Regions from separate parts of the Homo sapiens genome. Here region 1 is linked to region 2. Evidence: promoter capture Hi-C in 16 types of primary human blood cells and fetal thymus (Javierre and others, 2016). All regions are on one chromosome and are shown on one strand. Each heading gives the region's core, a stretch centred on a gene start or on the middle of the fragment in contact. The rest is flanking DNA. Distances are from core to core; before and after follow the strand shown. Region 1 overlaps ZKSCAN5 (zinc finger with KRAB and SCAN domains 5). Region 2 holds the start of OR2AE1 (olfactory receptor family 2 subfamily AE member 1).

Evidence for each region. Contacts are between HindIII fragments. The CHiCAGO score rates a contact against its expected background, and 5 or more counts as called.
Region 1: a contact is called between a fragment that was not itself captured here and the fragment with the promoter of OR2AE1 in region 2, in 4 of 17 cell types (M2 macrophages, M0 macrophages, erythroblasts and 1 more). The highest score is 7.1, in M2 macrophages.

Annotation. Positions count from the first base shown.
Region 1 is chr7:99,528,882-99,535,520 of GRCh38, reverse strand. ZKSCAN5 (zinc finger with KRAB and SCAN domains 5) reads right to left here. Exons shown (of 7, transcript NM_145102.4): 7 at 821-4,413. The coding sequence ends at 3,272. Among named protein-coding and RNA genes, the nearest start is that of FAM200A, 20 kb to the left of the region's middle. The HindIII fragment of the contact is 1,206 bases long and covers 2,918-4,123 here.
Region 2 is chr7:99,873,901-99,880,367 of GRCh38, reverse strand. OR2AE1 (olfactory receptor family 2 subfamily AE member 1) reads left to right here and starts at 3,335. Exons shown (of 1, transcript NM_001005276.1): 1 at 3,335-4,306. The coding sequence starts at 3,335. The coding sequence ends at 4,306. The HindIII fragment of the contact is 12,247 bases long and covers 2,791-6,467 here.

The DNA of each region.
Region 1 (6,639 bases), core at 2,271-4,770, 350 kb after region 2:
GACCCCATCTCTACCAAAAATAGAAAATAAATAGCCTGGTGCTGTGGCCCATGTCTGTAATGCCAGCACTTTGGGAGGCTGAGACGGGTGGACTGCTTGAGCTCAGGAGTTTGAGACCAGTCCAGGCAACATGGCAAAACCCTGTCTCTACCAAAAATACAAAAATGAACCACGTATGGTGGCACATGCCTCTGGTCCCAGCTACTTGGGAGGCTGAGGTGGGAGGATCGCTGGCACCCGGGAAGTTGAGGCTGCAGTGAGCTGTAATCATGCCACTCCACTCCAGCCTGGGTGACAAAGCGAGACCCTGTCTCAAAAAACAAAAAACAAACAAACAATGGTCCCCATGGCCACATGCCCACTGCTGCACCTCTGGCTGTAATGTGAATGGTCTGGGGTGATGTTATATAATAACCAGCCCCTGCAAACCAGGATAGCCACTACCAAGCTTCTCAGTGATGCTGATGGCCCCCCAACCAGGGCATTCCTTGGAACCTTGGTAAACAGAATGCTCTCCAGACCCTCCTAAGGAACATAACTGAAGGTGGGTTGCTTGGTCTTATCTTCTAGTTCCATCCTAGTTTGTGTATGTATGAATCTTTGGATCCCTTTGTTAAGTCTGCCATGGTTTTGTCATCTCTACGTCATTTAATGTGGGCCACTGACTTTTCTAAGCTTTCAAGAATCACTCCAAGGCCAGGTGCAGTAGCTCATGCCTGTAATCCCAACATTTGGGAGGCCAAGGCTGGAGGATCACTTGAGCCCAGGAGTTCGAGACCACTCTGGGCAGCATAGGGAGATACCATCTCTCCAAAAAATGTTTTTTTTTTTTTTTTTTTTTTTTTTAGACACTGTCGCTCTGTCAACTGGGCTAGAGTGCAGTGGCGTGATCTCAGCTCACTGCAACCTCTGCCTCCCGGGTTCAAGCGATTCTCCTGCCTCAGCCTCTGGAGTAGCTGGGACTATAGGCATGCGCCACTATGCCCAGCTAATTTTTGTATTTTAAGTAGAGACCGGGTTTCACCATGTTGGTTGGCCAGGATGGTTTCGATCTCTTGACCTCGTGATCTGCCCGCCTCAGCCTCCCAAAGTGCTGGGTTTATAGGCATGAGCCACCGCGCCCAGCTAAAGTATGTTTTTTAAAAATTAGCCACTCATGGTGGCATGTGCCTGTAGTCCCAGCTATTCAGGAGGCTGAGGTGGCTAGACCACTTGAGCCCGGGAGGTCAAGGCTGCAGTGAGCTGTGATTGCACCACTGCACTCTAGCCTGGGCAGCAGAGCAAGACCCTGTCTATAAAAAAATTAAAAAGCTACCAAGAAGGTCCTCTGACACACACTTGGCATTAAATTGGTGGTTATTTGCCCTGTCATTTTCTTCTCTTCAAGGATTCAGTGACTTTCAGCAAGAGCCACCCAATTCCATAATCTTTATTTTCCTGTTTGTCCCAAACCTCTACAAGTCAATAGATCGCTTTCCACCTGTATCTCATCCCAGTTCCCCACAAGTGAATGACTTAGTGACTGGACAGGTACCACATGCCAGGACTATTAACAGTGATGCGGGTCTTCACTCCCTCCTGGCGAGTGACCAACTCCACAATCCACTCTCACAGCAGCTTCCTATGACCACTTGTGGCACCAAATGTCTTAGATCAGGTTCTCTAAAGCAGAGCCTGAGACAGGGATTCAGAACCATGTGATTGACAGTGTGATTTATTTGGGAAACGCCTTTGAGGGAGGGAATGAAACAGGATAGAGAAGGGAGAGAGCTTAGCACGGATGAAGGCTCAGAAAAAGTCTAGCTTGGCCTGATCCAAGGGTGCCAGAGCAGTCATAGCACCCTGGAGTTTTCTCCGCTTTAATCAAATGAACCAGGTGTTGGGGTGTAGAGAGGAAGTGACTCCTGGGTGAGGTGAGATGGCTCTCATCTCCTGAGGGCAATTCTCCAGTTTCTGGAGAACAAGAGCTGTGAGCACTTGCAGCCCAAACTCAGAGCAGCTGGGGATGGGGGTCTCAGCTTGGTAGAGGGGACTGGACAGGGCACCACAGTGTACAACACATATGGTCAACAAATATTTATTGGGCATTTATTGTAAGCCAGGCAAGTCAGCAGAAACGGCCTGAGCAGTGCCCAAGAGCACTCACTCACTCTCCCTAGCAAACAGGCTCAGAACTCTCTCACACATGTCATCCTCTTTCCCACTCAAAACTCCCACCCCAACCTTCCTGGAAGGCAGGGCTAACAGGACCTCCTGCCTGCCTGCTCACGACTGATTACTTTCAATCCCAGCTGCAATGCAAACTGAAACTCATTCTGTATATCACCACTCTACAGGAGAGGTCTATTTCTGGGGCACCCAGAAGTCAGCACACATACTGCTGGGACCAGGACTCGTAATTCGCCTTGGTCCAACTCCTTCTATGGGTTTAGCTGCCCTCATTCCTGTGGGTAATACAAGATCAAACAGTCCACAACTTTGCCTGTCTTCTCTGCTCCCCTAAGGTCCCTCTCCCTTCGCCGTAAGATGTGACTGACCAGTACAGTTTCTCCTGAATTGACAAACTGAACTACTCCTTCTACCGGCTAAACCCTGACATCAGTAGAATCAAACCAAAAACAAGGTAGAGTGTTTCACAGAGAAGTGGTGGATTGAATAAGGCAGCAGAAACACATACCATCCAGCCCCTGAACCTGAATTTTGCCAAAACAGAGATACTTTAAGTCCATTTCTTTTCAAAGGGGTTAATGCTCAAAGTGGGAATAGTGACTAGGGTATTCTAGTGGTTGGAATAATAATTTCTAGAAAAGGTTCATTGCTGAGGTACCAAAACAGACATCATGCTAAGGAATTCTTTTACTGTGCGCTTCCCTGAATAGATACGCCGTCAAACAAGGCAGAAGCTACAAATAAAGCTTACTTCTACTGAACTCATGAAGCTGTTCCTAGTGTCAGTTTTGAGTTTCAAGTGAAGACTGAATGTCAACTGCAGGCTTTCCGAATTCCTCGACCATGTCCATCCATGGATTCTCTTCTTGTCTAGATTTCCAAGCATGAAGATGCTAACTAAAGCATTTCTCAATGGGGAACACGAAAAGATTTCTATTATTGTGGGTTCTCCGGTGTTCCTAAAGGCTGAGTTATAACTAAAGGATTTCAACCTATTTGTGAGTTTGATGGTAACGCTGGAAAAATGCTTGAAGTTGTTACTTTGCTCATTATAGGAGTATGGTTTCCCTCCAGGAAGGTTTCTCTAAAATTAAGAGCTATTCTACAACAGAGACCCCTCTACACTTAAGGTATTTATGGGATCTGTCCTCTCATGGCTTCTCAGGTGTTTAAAGAGGCTACAACTCCAGCTGAAATTCATTCCACATTCTTTACATTGAAAAGGTTTCTCACCAGTATGGATTCTCTGATGTTGATTAAGATGTGACTTCAGAGTGAAGCCTCTGCCACATTCATGACATTGATGGGATTTTGTGCTGGAGTAGATTTTTTGATGTTGTTTGGTGTGGGAACACTGGCCAACATTTTCTCTACATATATCACATTGATAGGGCTTCTCTGCTGTATGAGTTCTGTAATGCTGAATGAGGTCTGAGCTATAACCAAAGGCTTTTCCACAGATATCACACTGATAAGGCTGCTCTTGTAACTCAATCTTCTTGTCTTCAATCACTGTCAAGTTCCAACTATATGCTTCCTCACAGATGCCATTTTTTTCATTTTTCTGACCCATGTGGAGCACCTGATGTTCAATTAGGCTAACGTACTGAAAAAAGATTTCCCCACATTCACGACACTGATGGGATTTCTCTCGGGAGTGGAGTCGAAGATGTCCAGCCAGGTGGGAACGCCTCCCAAAGCCTTTCCCACATTCGTTACACTTGAAGGGTCTCTCCCCACTGTGCACGCTCTGATGCTGAACAAGGTGGGACCTCACTCTGAAGGCTTTCCCACATAAGGGACAGGTGTAGGGCTTCTCACCTGTGTGGACGCGCTGATGCTGAGTTAGGTGCACGCGTTGGTTGTAGCTTTTCCCACATTCCTCACACCTGAATGGTTTCTCCCCAGTGTGTATTCTTTGATGTTGAATAAGATGTGCACTCTGAATGAAGCTTTTCCCACACTCGTTACATTTATGTGGTCTCTCTCCAGTGGAGGATTTTTTGTGGACATATGGGACTTCACTGTAGTTCATCCTCTTTGAAGATGGTTGTCCTAGTATCTCTTTCATGGGAATTCCCTGCTTTCTATCCAGCTTGCCTTGAAACTCACAGCCTTCTCCAAAATCTTGAACTTGAGAAACATTTCTTTGGGTTTTTCCAGATAGTTCCATGTCTGCTTCTGAATATTCTGAAATTTTCTTCTTAACACTTAATTTTGTGTTCTTACTTCTTTTGTCACTGCCTAAAAAAAATAAAGAGCAAGTGAAAATGTCATCAGTTCTTTTTTTTTTTTGAGATGGGGTCTTGCTCTGTCGCCCAGGCTAGAGTGCAATGATGCGATCTCGGCTCACTGCAACCTCTGCCTCCTGGGTTCAAGTGATTCTCCTGCCTCAGCCTCTCAAGTAGCTGAGACTACAGGCGTGCATGACCACACCCAGCTAATTTTTGTATGTTTAGTAGAGATGGGGTTTTGCCATGTTGGCCAGGCTGGTCTCAAACTCCTGACTTTGGGTGATCCACCCGCCTCAGCCTCCCAAAGTGCTGGGATTACAGGTTTAAGCCACCGTGCCTGGCCCATCAGTTCTTTTATAAAGGAAAAATAAACTGTCATAAAAAATGTTCATCAGATGAAACTATGATGTAACGGGAGTAACAGAGGTGGATGTGTGTGTGTACTTGATGCCAACAGGAATGTAAACAACAAACTTTTGGAATTTTCTGACGAAAAGAGCAAGACTCATCCACAGGATGGCAGAAAATATTTGCAAACTATGCATCAGACAAAGGACTAATATCCAGAATCTACAAGTAACTCTAACAAGTCAACAAGAAAAAAAAAATCCCATCAAAAAGTAGGCAAATGACATGGAGACAGTTCTCAAAATAATATATACAAATGACCAACAAACATGAAAAAAATGCTGAACATCACTAATCATCAGGAAGGTGCAAATTAAAGCCACAATAAGGTACTGCCTTACTCCTGCAAGAATGGCCATTATTAAGAAGTCAAAAGGCCGGGCGTGGTGGCTCACACCTGTAATCCCAGCACTATGGGAGGCCGAGGCGGGCAGATCACCTGAGGTCAGGAGTTCGAAACCAGCCTGGCCAACATGGTGAAACCCACATCTCTACTAAAAATACAAAAATTAGCTGGGCATGGTGGCGGGCGCCTGTAATCCCAGCTACTCAGGAGGCTGAGGCAGGAGAATCGCTTGAACCCAGGAGGCTGAGGTTGCAGTGAGCCGAGACTGCGCCATTGCACTCCAGCCTGGGCAACAGCAAGACTCCATCTCAAAAAAAAAAAAAAAAAAAGGCCGGGTGCAGGTGGCTCACGCCTGTAATCCCAGAACTTTGGGAAGCCGAGGTGGGTGGATCACGAGGTCAGGAATTCAAGACCAGCCTGACCAAGACAGTGAAACCCCATCTCTACTAAAAATACAAAAATTAGCTGGGCATGGTGGTGGGTGCCCTGTAATCACAGCTACTCCAGAGGCTGAGGCAGAGAATTGCTTGAACCCAAGAGGCAGAGGTTGCAGTGAGCCAAGATTGCGCCACTGCACTCCAGCCTGGGCAACACAGCGAGACTCCATCTCAAAAAAAACAAAGAAGTCAAAAAACAATAGATGTTGGCATGGATGTGGTGAAAAGGGAACGCTTATACATTGCTGGTGAGAGATAAATTAATACAACTTCTGTGGATAACAGTATGGAGACTTCTTCAAGAACCAGAAGTAGATCTGCCATTTGATCCAGCAATTCCACAACTGGGTATATCTACACAAAGGAAAAGACAATATACCAAAAAGACTGTAAGCGCCTGTCTTCTGCAGCACAATTCACAACTGCAAAGATATGGAGCCAATCTAAGTGCCCGTTGAGCAATGAGTTGATAAAGAAAATGTAGCAGGCTGGGTGTGGTGACTCGTGCCTATAATCCCAGCACTTTGGGAGGCTGAGGCAGGTGGATCACCTGAGGTCAGGAGTTCAAGACCAGCCTGACCAACATGGTAAAACCTCATCTCTACTAAACATACAAAAATTAGCAAGGGATCGTGGTAGGTGCCTGTAGTCCCAGCTACTCGGGAGGCTGAGGCAGAAGAATCGCCTGAACCCAGGAGGCAGAAGCTGCAGTGAGTTGAGATCACATCACTGCACTCCAGCCTGGGTGACAGAGTGAGACTCCATCTCAAAAAAGAAAAACAAAAAACAAATACATAACTGGGTGGTGAGAACTGACAAAAACTGGAAGAATGAGAGTGAAGGATGATGAAGAGGGTATGCAGTCAGGGAATATCTGACTAGGAGTCAGGAAATAAGGCAAAATGAGCCAACAAGAAGCATTGTCAGAGGGTGGGTGATACAGCAATCCCTGCCCCCTTCACCCTTAGCCAACATTCTAGCCTCAGTTTTCCTCCCCCGGCATGTCATCCTTCTCCTTTGGGAATGCTCATCACCTTTACTATCT
Region 2 (6,467 bases), core at 2,086-4,585:
AAATAAAAGGGAAGTGTGTGGAGATCTCTAATGGGTTGGAGTGATCAGGAGGAGCATGGGAGAAGTTGAGCTTCTAGTCCACCAGAAGCTGAGTGTGAAATAACAGTGTGAAGTGACAGCCAGAAAGATGAGACTGTAGACTGCATTAGGAGAGAGACAGTAATAGATGTGACTTTTTTTTTTTTTTTTGAGACAGAATTTTGCTCTTGTTGCTCAAGGTGGAGTGCAATGGTGTGATCTCGGCTCACTGCATCATCTGCCTCCTGGGTTCTAGCGATTCTCCTGCCTCAGCCTCTGGAGTAGCTGGGATTACAGGCATGCGCCACCACGCCCGGCTAATTTTGTATTTTCAGTAGAGACGGGGTTTCTACATGTTGGTCAGGCTGGTCTCGAACTCCTGACCTCAGGTGATCCACTTGTCGTGGCCTCCCAAAGTGCCAGGATTACAGGCATGAGCGACCGCGCCCGGCCAGATGTGACCTCTTTCTTACTGATCAAATGCTTGGGAGAATGCATTCAGTTCTGAGTTCTTTGCTTTAAGAAGTAAATAGATAATCGTCACCGCATGAAGGTCTAGAAAGACATTTAGGAGAAAAAACACAAAAAAGAATAGGGTGGATATTTGAGGAATCAATTAAGATTACTTTTTTTTTTTGAGACAGAGTCTTGCCCTGTCGCCCAGGCTAGAGTGCAGTGGCACAATCTTGGCTCACTGCAAACTCCACCTCCCGGGTTCAAGGGATTCTAATGCCTCAGCCCCTCGAGTAGCTGCAATTACAGGTATGTGCCACCAAGCCTGGCTAATTTTTGTATTTTTAGTAGAGACAGGGTTTCACTATGTTGGCCAGGCTGGTCTCAAAGTCCTGACCTCAGGTGATCTGCCTGCCTTGGCCTCCCAAAGTGCTGGGATTACAGACCTGAGCCACTGTCCCCTGCCTGAAATTAACAATTATTAATACATCTTATGTTAGATACGGGGGATGACAGAGGAGAAGAAAACAAATATTCAGTACACATACACACACACACAGAATAAATGCCCATAACTATTACAGTTTTTGTTTCTGTAGCTGCTCACATGGTTTTTGGCTGGTATTTATAACGACTTGCTTTCACTACCCATTCCAATTCTCTTTGTCTACAGTTATTCATGACTCTTTGCCTGGTGGGGTAACCCAAACCTTTATTCCTGAAGCATCTGGGCCACTAGCAGTCTTGTCTGAATTGGGTTGTAGTTTTCTATTGGCTTACATCATGAGACATGAGAGTACACCCTAGAAAATCTGACTGCAGACATAATTCTCCATATCCTCACTGTATAGTAGTGACTGAATTTCCCATTGCTAGTCAGAATCAGTCTTACTAGCCAATAGAGTAACCTTATTTGCCTATTGATTCAGTTCTATGAGGAGCCCCAAGTGGCATGGTGGCAGTCTTAACTATCAGAAAATGGGATTATTGTTGTGACACCTGGTAGAAGAATTTCTCCCTTTGGAACTAAGACCTCTAAAACAGCAAAAGCTAAAAGTGAAGGGATAGAAAACTAAAATTGTGCTGGTGGGTCACAGTTATGGGGGCTATAGTGAGAGGACTCATTCTCTCTTCTACCTGGTGATTTCTGGTTCCATGAATCTTGCTATGGGAGGAAGAGCAGCATAAATTGGATGCAGATTTAGAGTATATTTCACATCCTAGAGGACACTGCCCCAGCACCAAAACGTGTTGCCAACCAGATGGTCTTCAAAAGGCCTTCCCTTGGATTCTCCTTTAGTTTTTCTGACTTCTGGGTCAGGTGTGTGCATTCTTTTTTTTTTTTATTTTTTTTTTTTTATTTTTTTTTTTAAGACGGAGTCTCGCTCTGTTGCCCAGGCTGGAGTGCAGTGATGCGATCTCCACTCACTGCAAGCTCCGCTTCCTGGGTTCACACCATTCTCTTGCCTCAGCCTCCCGAGTAGCTGGGACTACAGGCGCCCGCCACCACGCCCGGCAAATTTTTTGTATTTTTAGTAGAGACGGGGTTTCACCGTGTTAGCCAGGATGGTCTCCATCTCCTGACCTCGTGATCCACCTGCCTCGGCCTCCCAAAGTGCTGGGATTACAGGCGTGAGCCGCCGCGCCCGGCCAGGTGTGTGCATTTTTAATCTGGCCATTAAGAAGCGCCCCAGCGGCCGGGTGCGGTGGTTCACGCCTGTAATCCCAGCACTTTGGGAGGCCGAGGCGGGGGGATCACGAGGTCAGGAGATGGAGACCATCCTGTCGAACACGGTGAAATCCCCGTCTCTACTAAAAATACAAAAAATTAGCCGGGTGTGGTGGCAGGCGCCTGTAGTCCCAGCTACTACGGAGGCTGAGGCAAGAGAATGGCATGAACCCGGGAGGCGGAGCTTGCAGTGAGACGAGATCGGGCCACAGCATTCCAGCCTGGGCGACAGAGCAAGACTCCAACTCAAAAAAAAAAAAAAAAAAAAAAAGAGGCGCCCCAGCTTCTGCAGGATATCCACACCGCCAATTTCAGAGACAACAAGAACTGACATGGGTTTCAGTCTGCCTTTGTGGGATTGCAGCTCATGCTTGTGGGTTCCAGCATGACTTTGATCTGCCACTCTTTATATCCATTTTTTTTTTCCTGACTACTTGCCCTCTGGAATTAAAGTTCCAGCATCAGACACAAAGGTAACAGCCACGCATAGATTGCCTAACCAGCTTCCACAATTGTATAAGAGAAATCTCTTAGTGTTATAGCTTTTCTAGTAAAATCCTCACTGATAAAATAAGCAACGCCCCCAAGCTTTTCTCCAAACTGTCTCTCTGTGTGTGTCTGTATAGAGAGAGAGAGCTTAAAAATCTGCCTTCACAAACATGATCACTCTGAAATCTCAGAATATCTAGACTCCATTAAGTATCAAACTTCAAGTCTCTTCTCATTAAGAAAGACAAATGTGTGTGTGTGTGTGTGTGTGTATACATATGTGTGTTTTGGAAGCCTAGGAAGTAAATGGGGAATAAATATATACACACATACATATACATACACACACACACACACACACATATATATCTTTCTTAACGAGAAGAGACTTGAAGTTTGATAATAGAGTCCAGATATTCTGAAATTTCAGAGTGATTATGTTTGTGAAGGCAGATTTCTAAGCTCTCTTTTAAAAAAAGGTTATTTGAATAATTAGAGAGGTTGAATAATTAGAAACGGAAATTTTTTTCACAGGTTCTGTCCTCTATCAAAAGGTGCTTTTCCTTGGGTATACTGGACCCCAGTATTTCCAGTCACACTCTTTATCTCCACTCTCTGTTTCCTCAGGGATTGAGAAAGGGGACAATGTGGCAGAAGAATCAGACCTCTCTGGCAGACTTCATCCTTGAGGGGCTCTTCGATGACTCCCTTACCCACCTTTTCCTTTTCTCCTTGACCATGGTGGTCTTCCTTATTGCGGTGAGTGGCAACACCCTCACCATTCTCCTCATCTGCATTGATCCCCAGCTTCATACACCAATGTATTTCCTGCTCAGCCAGCTCTCCCTCATGGATCTGATGCATGTCTCCACAATCATCCTGAAGATGGCTACCAACTACCTATCTGGCAAGAAATCTATCTCCTTTGTGGGCTGTGCAACCCAGCACTTCCTCTATTTGTGTCTAGGTGGTGCTGAATGTTTTCTCTTAGCTGTCATGTCCTATGACCGCTATGTTGCCATCTGTCATCCACTGCGCTATGCTGTGCTCATGAACAAGAAGGTGGGACTGATGATGGCTGTCATGTCATGGTTGGGGGCATCCGTGAACTCCCTAATTCACATGGCGATCTTGATGCACTTCCCTTTCTGTGGGCCTCGGAAAGTCTACCACTTCTACTGTGAGTTCCCAGCTGTTGTGAAGTTGGTATGTGGCGACATCACTGTGTATGAGACCACAGTGTACATCAGCAGCATTCTCCTCCTCCTCCCCATCTTCCTGATTTCTACATCCTATGTCTTCATCCTTCAAAGTGTCATTCAGATGCGCTCATCTGGGAGCAAGAGAAATGCCTTTGCCACTTGTGGCTCCCACCTCACGGTGGTTTCTCTTTGGTTTGGTGCCTGCATCTTCTCCTACATGAGACCCAGGTCCCAGTGCACTCTATTGCAGAACAAAGTTGGTTCTGTGTTCTACAGCATCATTACGCCCACATTGAATTCTCTGATTTATACTCTCCGGAATAAAGATGTAGCTAAGGCTCTGAGAAGAGTGCTGAGGAGAGATGTTATCACCCAGTGCATTCAACGACTGCAATTGTGGTTGCCCCGAGTGTAGAGTGGAATAGGATAAGCTCCTTAAATTAATTCATATAAACCTCTAAAGTTTTTCAGGGAGATAGCTTCCTTATGCTGTTTTACTACTGGAAGAAAAACACATTTAACACACAATTCCAGTATTCCAGCTTGGTGTCAGGTATCCAAGCACTGTGGAGAACATTTGAGTAGATCTTTAGAGAATTAGGGAAAACTTTTTAAAAAGTCCCTTTGAAAGAAGACATATAAAGGTCACTGACACCCTGAAAAAAAGAAGGCAAGATAAAGATATAAGGGCCCTTATCTATTATTATTTTTATTAACAAAAATATATAAAACATGCCACCAGAGAGTATTTATGGAGTTTAAAATTGGAGTGTGTTGCTTACTTTTGGAAGCATGGGAAGTAAATGGTGAATGATGGCTGTTTGAAAGGGAGGATGCATGATATAAAAGTTGTATTCTTTTTTTTTTTTGTGACGGAGTCTCTCTCTGTCACCTAGGCTGGAGTGCAGTGGCACGATCTTGGCTCACTGCAACCTCCGCCTCCCAGGTTCAAGTGATTCTCCTGCCTCAGCCAGGAGTAGCTGAGTATTACAGAGTAGCTGGGATTACAGGCGCGTGCCACCATGCCTGGCTAATTTTTGTATTTTTAGTAGAGACGGGGTTTCACCATGTTGGTCAGGCTGGTCTTCAACCCCTGACCTCAGGTGATCTGCCCACCTTGGCCTCCCAAAGTTCTGAGATTACAGACGTGAGCTACTGCACCTGGCCCTAAAAGTTATATTCTTAGACCCTTAGTGTTCCATGAATCACAGTGTGTAAGAATTCATAAGGGAAAGAATAATACATTTTGTATACATACATAATAATATATAACATAATTCTTGTAATCCATGTTGTGTTTAACAAATCTTTGTTGAGTGCCTAGTATGATCCAGGTGGTAGACTAGATGTTTGGAATTGCATTGTGAAACTTAAGATTTTTTACACATCTGCTTGTGCTTTTCCTTGGTCTACGTTGGACTTGCCATAGCAGGTAGGCATATTAACTTTTATTATTTCACAGGCTGAAAATACCTTTCTGTTCTTTGAGGGTTCCTAGCCTTGTGATTTGGAATCAGAATGATCTGGAGGAGAGTCTGCCACTTGATAACAGTGGTAAGTTACTTAACCTCTCAAGGCCTCAGTAATCTTATGTGTTTAATGAAAAAAAAAATAGGGTGACCTGAGATTTTGTGTTAGTTATGGGTATTGGTTCCAAGCAACAGAAATGGACTCTGAATGAAACAAGCAGAAAAAAGCCTTATTGAAGGCATGATGGGAAGATGTCAGAATCAGTGGGAGCACTAAAGAACCAGATTTGGAGACTATTACTCACATATCCATTTACTGCCAAATTGTCCACAGAATAAGTCCAAGAAGAGGCCAGTAGTAGAATTCATCCAATGGAGACAAGATTATTTGGGTTTAGCAATATGGGGGAGGACTAACACAGGTCATCATAACCATCTGATCTGCAAGGATCTCTTATAATCTTGCTCTTGAAATTATTCTTCTCTCTTCTGCGTTATAAATTTTCCCAGTCTACTTGATCAGTACCTCAGCCTACAGACATACCTTTATGATTGTCATCTTAAAAAGAAACTTCTCCTCAATCCCGGAAAGTCTAAACCAAGCTCATTCAACCCATGTACTGCAGACCATATGTGGCCTGGGAAGGCTTTGAATGTGGCCCAACACAAATTCATAAACTTTCTTAAAACATTTTCATCATCACTGGCCATCAGAGAAATGCAAATCAAAACCACATTGAGATACCATCTCACACCAGTTAGAATGGCGATCATTAAAAAGTCAGGAAACCACAGGTGCTGGAGAGGATGTGGAGAAATAGGAATACTTTTATGCTGTTGGTGGGACTGTAAACTAGTTCAACCATTGTGGAAGTCAGTGTGGCGATTCCTCAGGGATCTAGAACTAGAAATACCATTTGACCCAGCCATCCCATTACTGGGTATATACCCAAAGGATTATAAATCATGCTGCTGTAAAGACACGTGCACACGTATGTTTATTGCAGCACTATTCACAATAGCAAAGACTTGGAACCAACCCAAATGTCCAACAATGATAGACTGGATTAAGAAAATGTGGCCCATATACACAGAATACAATGCAGC